Linked DNA regions of Homo sapiens: region 2 is linked to region 1. The links are contacts of gene promoters, found by promoter capture Hi-C in blood cells and fetal thymus (Javierre and others, 2016). All regions are on one chromosome and are shown on one strand. The core of a region is centred on a gene start or on the middle of the fragment in contact, and the rest is flanking DNA. Distances in the headings are between cores, read along the strand shown.

Region 1 (2,700 bases), core at 3-2,502:
ACGTCTTCTTCATGGAGACTTTAGTGAGCAGTAGCTAATTTAAAGCTCAGTGTAGGCCGGTCGTGGTGGCTCACACCTGTAATCTCAGCACTTCTTTGGGAGGTGGAGGCGGAGAGGGGTTGGGATTCCTTGAGCCTTGGAGTTCAGGGCCAGCATGGCAACAGGGCGAAACCTAGTTTTTACAGAAAATACAAACATCAGCTGGGCATGGTGGCGGGCCTGTAGTCCCTGCTACTCTGCAGGCTGAAGCAGGAGGAGTGCTTTAGCAGGGAGGTCGAGGCTTAAATGAGCCCAGGTCGTGCCACTGCACTCCAGCTTGGGCGACAGAGCGAGAAGACCCTGTTTCAAAAAACAAACACAAAAATTCATTCTAACCAAAACTGAATGCTAGTAGCAGGAACTGGTATGAAGATTGCGGTCTGGAATCCCTTCTAATGCGTCTGACCTTGCATTGTGAAGTCTTCACAGTGATGCTTCTGGGTTCTATATGATTATCGTCATTGCTTAGCAACCTCTAGTTGTAAATAAATTCTTTAAATTTCCTTAGTCGTTTGCGGGGCAAGGAGAGGGTCATTTACATGCCCTTTCCTTCTCGCTACTCAATCTTAAATTTGGGTTACGAATCAAACTGATGGACCCTACATGGCTTCTACCCGAAATTACAGGTATCTACCGTTCCATCTTCAAGAAAGGGAGGGGTTCCGCCAAGATGGACGAACATAAAAATCACAGGAGGAGCCTTCTAACAATGTGCATTCTTCGCACACTGAGTGGGGAATGGCCTTGTCATGTTTGAAACAGTGCCCCAACTACTCAATGTCCCAGGAACCCCAGTGGAGCGAGTTCTGTACACAGAGAGGGCCAAGATCCACAAATCAGCTAAGGAATCATTTCCATAGTCTCCCTCCCCTATTGAGTCTCGATCCACAAAAGCTATCCCCTGTCCCTCTCATCCATCAAGGGCGTGTTTTTCGCCTCTCCTTCCCCGGCCTCCCGCGTCCGCCCAGCCTGTCCGCATCCAGCCCCGCCACGCCCCATGGGCGGTCCCGAGCTGCGGCCCCGCCCCCTCACCGCCTCCCCGGCCGCGGAAACCCCGCCCCAACGACGCGGAGACCGGGGGCGGCCCGCGGCCCGCGGCGGGCGGGCTGGCGGGGACGGACGCGGGGGGAGGGGGGCGACGGGATGTGGGGTGGGGGCGGGGCCTGGCTGGGCGCCGGGACGGGAGGAGTCCCGGCGGCGCCTCGGACTTTTGCTCCCACAAGTCCTGCCTCGGAGGCGGGGGAGCTGGACCAGCAGCCGCCTGGAGCGTCCGAGTCACCGTCGCCGGGGCTCCCGCGCTCCCCAGAACGGTGGGACGCGGGGCTCGGCAGCCGCCAGCGGAACATGGCGCCCTGGACGCTGTGGCGCTGCTGCCAGCGCGTCGTGGGCTGGGTGCCGGTGCTCTTCATCACCTTCGTGGTCGTCTGGTCCTACTACGCGTACGTGGTGGAGCTCTGCGTGTGTGAGTACCGTCCCCGGGGACTGCGGCGGGGCGCGGGCCGCGGCTAGGGCGCGAGATAGGCCTCTGCGCCCCACACCCGCCGCCTTTCTGGAGCCAGCGCCGGACGCCGGGCGTCCGGCCCCGAACGCGCTCGGAAGCGCCGAGGTTGCTGCACCCGCCGCTTTGTTCAATCCTGCGGCGCGGCCTTGGGGCGACCTGGGGCTCCTGAAGCCTTGCGGCGGCTTCCCGGGTGCAGGTCTGGCCCAGGGAGGCCCCAAGAGCTTCCTGGTTCCCGCCGACACCGGGGGTCTGCATCCTTCTGGGAAGGAACGTGCAGAACGGGAGTAGTCGAGCTTCTTAGAAGGTTTAGGTTGTGTTTGTGGCTTTTTTGGCTTTTGTTCATTTTTTTTAAAAAACCAAATCTGTTCCTTCTGGATTGTTTTTGTTCAAACTGCGCGAGAAGAAACGCCTGTTACCTGTAGAGCCGGCTGTGGCGGGTTGGGGGAAGGGAGGTGTGTCTTTTGGTGGCCTCGGGCTGGAGGCGGGTCAGACCTGGAGGACGAGTAAGCTCCCACTTTTGATTTTTGGTGGTACTCGACTCATTGTAAAATTCGTTTATTTCTACTCTGAATCCAGCCGGCTTTTGCAGAAGGTTAAGACAGAAAGAATGGGTGGGAGGAGACATAACCTGATTATTTTTTTCTTGGCTGATTATTAAGGAGGCTTATATTTCTTATACTCATATTTTGGCGTGTTAATTTTCGTTACTTCCATTTTCCTGATAAGTTCTTAGCACAAAATTCTCATCTGATTCCCTGGAAAAAAGGAGTAGCATTGCAGTATACTTCAAGGATTTAACCTACTGGCTTGAATTGGTTGCCTTTAAGATTGAAGGAAATTGGTTGTCATTAATCAAAAACACTGTTTAGGGGTGACTGCTACATTTGTGATATTGGGCAATTTCTCCAACATTGTTTTGTCTTAAGTAAATTGTTCTTAGGCTTTGAGTATGTGGGTATTTTACACTTAAACTGGCCTCAACTAGGGTGTTCTGTATACATCTGCTGCCTATATCAATTTTTTATGAAAACCTAGGACCAAATGGTAAGTGGTGTTTGTAAACGTTATTGTTATTCCAGAATGTTCTACTCTTAGTCCTTAGACTGAATCTACCATTTTATGAAGGACTGTTAAGTGTTCTTTGAATAACGAACCACATC
Region 2 (2,700 bases), core at 120-2,619, 930 kb after region 1:
CTACTGAGTAGCTGAGACTACAGGCGGCACCAGCCTGGATAAGTTTTTTAATTTTTTGGTAGAGACAGGGGTCTCGCTTTGTTGCCCAGGCTGGTCTTGAACTCCTGGCCTCAAGCTATTATTTACTACTCAGCTTCCCAAAGCGCTGGGATTTCAGGCATGACTTTGCAGGGAGCAGCAAACAAGCCAGTCTGCTGCCCCCATAGCCTCCGGTAGTGAGCAGTCACAGGATGCTCACTCCCTGGGTGCCTTGATTATTATATTGGCTGCCTGTGTAACTGACTACAGAAACTGCTCCATCAGAAGATGGAAGCTTTGGAGCCTTGTATTCTCAGCCAGAGCAGGCGCGGTTGCTCAGGCTAGCGGCTGTCTCAACAATGTACTGTAACATTCCCTCCAAAAAGTCCTCAACATTTAAGCTTGCCTTCTACTGTGTGTAAGTTGCATGTCCGAAACACTCCATTACGGATATGGGAATATAATCAATCCATGTGACTTAGCCAATCTGATGAGTGAGAGATGACTTATCTTCCTTGTGTTACTTTTCATTTCTCTTGAGGTTGAATACTTTACAAATATTTATCGATAATTTGTGAAACTGTTCTTTAAAAAACAAAACAAAACAAAAAAACCTAACCCCTCCCCTGAGATTTCTCTTTCCACGTTCCTGACTCAGGGGAAACAAAGGAAGACTTCCTTTTATCATCTCAGTGTTGGCTGCGGTTCCAGCTTGAGTACTGTCTCCTCTGTCTAATGACTGTGTCATTTCCCGTTCAGCTTGTGCTGTGTGGACGCACACCACTGTCAGGCAATGTGTGATGCCCCTTCCTCTTGGTCTGTTCCGGGCTCCAAGAAGGCCAGGAGTCAGGGCACGAGGGCATTTCCTTTTTCTGATACATAAACCGAGTGCAGAGTGTGCTCCGTGGAGGAATTCAGACGTGTCCTTCCGTAGCGCAGATGAACGCATCAGGTGTTCTCTTTCACTGCTGTCGCAGTCCCTGCGCCCAGTTCGCAGTTGGCGGCAGCGGCAGGCGTCTTTCAGAGACGAATTAGCAAAGGGGACATTCTCTGACAGTTTCTCTAGGGTGCTTTAGCGCTAGAGCCCGTGCCAGCCTGCCCGTGTCCCCTCCTATAGACACGGACTTCACGGTGAATGCTGACAGTCACAAGCGCGTGGTCTTCCCGCTTTCCACCCCCCGACGTGCCCCCGCGCTGGTCCTGCCCCTGCCCACGAGGGTCGGCGCGCCGTGTGTCTCCCGGTGTCTCGGGCCCGCGGCGCGCACCCCACTCAGGGACCAAGCGGCCCTCCCCGCCCTCCCGGTCCGCGCGCGCAGCCAATGGGCGCGGGACCCGCCCTCCCCGGAGCCCAGAGCTCGCAGCTCCGCCGGCGCCTGGTCCCAGCGCCCGCGGCGCCGCGTCCCCGGCCCAACCATGGCGTCCTCCGCGGCCGGCTGCGTGGTGATCGTTGGCAGGTAAAGGGCTCCGAGCCGCGCTGCTGCCCCTGGAGCCCGGGGAGACGCCGGGGACGTGGTGCCCTCGCGTGGGGCCCTCGGGGTGGGCGCCGGGTCGCTGTCCCCGCCCCGGCCTCCGGTCCTCCGAAGCCCTGCGCCCTGCGGCCCCTACGGCGCTGGCGGGCTCGGGGAGAGGCGCGGCTGGAGGGGCTTGGCAGGTGGAGGCGCCCCGCGGAGTTGGGTCTGCTTCCCGGGAGCCAGCGTTGCAGGAGGTTCCGAGGTTGACCGCCCAGGCCGCGGGGCCTGCGGTTCCTGGACTCTGTTGAATGTCGCCGCGTCTGCCCGCAGGTCCACATAGAAGTGCCAGGCACCGTGTTGAATGAAACGAATTCTGGCTGCGATCCTGCGACGACTGTGTTCTCATCCCCATTTTACGAATGAGAATACTGAGACTAAGCAGTTTACCTAAGGTCACAGGCGTTTAGTGACGGAGACAGGACTAGCCCAGCAGGGAGGGTGCCAGCGCAGTCCTGTCGGCGACGATGTCGCTGGAGGCCGCAGCAGGTGTTAGGCGAACATACACGCAGTCCTAATTCCTGGGCGAGGCGATGTTTCCAGAGGGGAGGTGGGGGCCGATGGAGCCCAGAGAGTTTGCTAAGTGTGTCCATTTAACAGCTTAAATTCTGCCCAAACTGATTTTTAGTGTGTGCTTCCCCCACCCCGCCCCCCACCCCTACGGTTACAATCCTTGCTATTTTTGTTTTTTAAAAAGGGGCATTTGTATGTACCTTTCTTTGGCCAGCTGTTAGCAGCAATCTATAAACATGTTAATACTTGCTATTGATAGTTAAAAGCACCTTTTTGGTGACTGCTGTTGAGGTGTTGGCCTGCCCCCGACTCCGCCCCCCATCAGTGTACAACCCGGTGTGGAGACCACTTCCAATGTCAGGGTGTTTCCTTCCCACTGAAGGAAGGCATCAGATTCCTTGTTGTCAGCTTTCTTTTCTCCAGAGCAGTGGAGTTAACTGTGCCTTTGTTCTTTCTGGCCCATGAGTGCCCGTGGTTGAATAGTGAAGGCATATTAAAAAGTGCACTTTGGGCCGCGCGCGGTGGCTCACCCCTGTAATCCCAGCACGTTGGGAGGCCGAGGCAGGCGGATCATCTGAGGTCGGGAGTTCGAGACCAGCCTGACCAATATGGAGAAACTCCGTCTCTACTAAAAATACAAAATTAGCCGGGCGTAGTGGCA

Evidence for each region. Contacts are between HindIII fragments. The CHiCAGO score rates a contact against its expected background, and 5 or more counts as called.
Region 2: a contact is called between the fragment with the promoter of CRYL1 here and the fragment with the promoter of ZDHHC20 in region 1, in 14 of 17 cell types (fetal thymus, total B cells, naive B cells and 11 more). The highest score is 23.7, in fetal thymus.

The regions. Positions count from the first base shown.
Region 1 is chr13:21,457,855-21,460,554 of GRCh38, reverse strand. It overlaps ZDHHC20 (zDHHC palmitoyltransferase 20), which reads left to right and starts at 1,252. Exons shown (of 13, transcript NM_001330059.2): 1 at 1,252-1,501. The coding sequence starts at 1,384. It overlaps LOC124903131 (a long non-coding RNA gene), which reads right to left and starts at 1,008. Exons shown (of 2, transcript XR_007063713.1): 1 at 376-1,008; 2 at 1-172. RefSeq lists a cis regulatory region at 1,011, an enhancer at 927-1,096 and a silencer at 960-1,339. The HindIII fragment of the contact is 7,258 bases long and covers 1-2,700 here.
Region 2 is chr13:20,524,526-20,527,225 of GRCh38, reverse strand. CRYL1 (crystallin lambda 1) reads left to right here and starts at 1,369. Exons shown (of 8, transcript NM_015974.3): 1 at 1,369-1,472. The coding sequence starts at 1,432. RefSeq lists an enhancer at 854-963 and a silencer at 1,144-1,693. The HindIII fragment of the contact is 5,179 bases long and covers 422-2,700 here.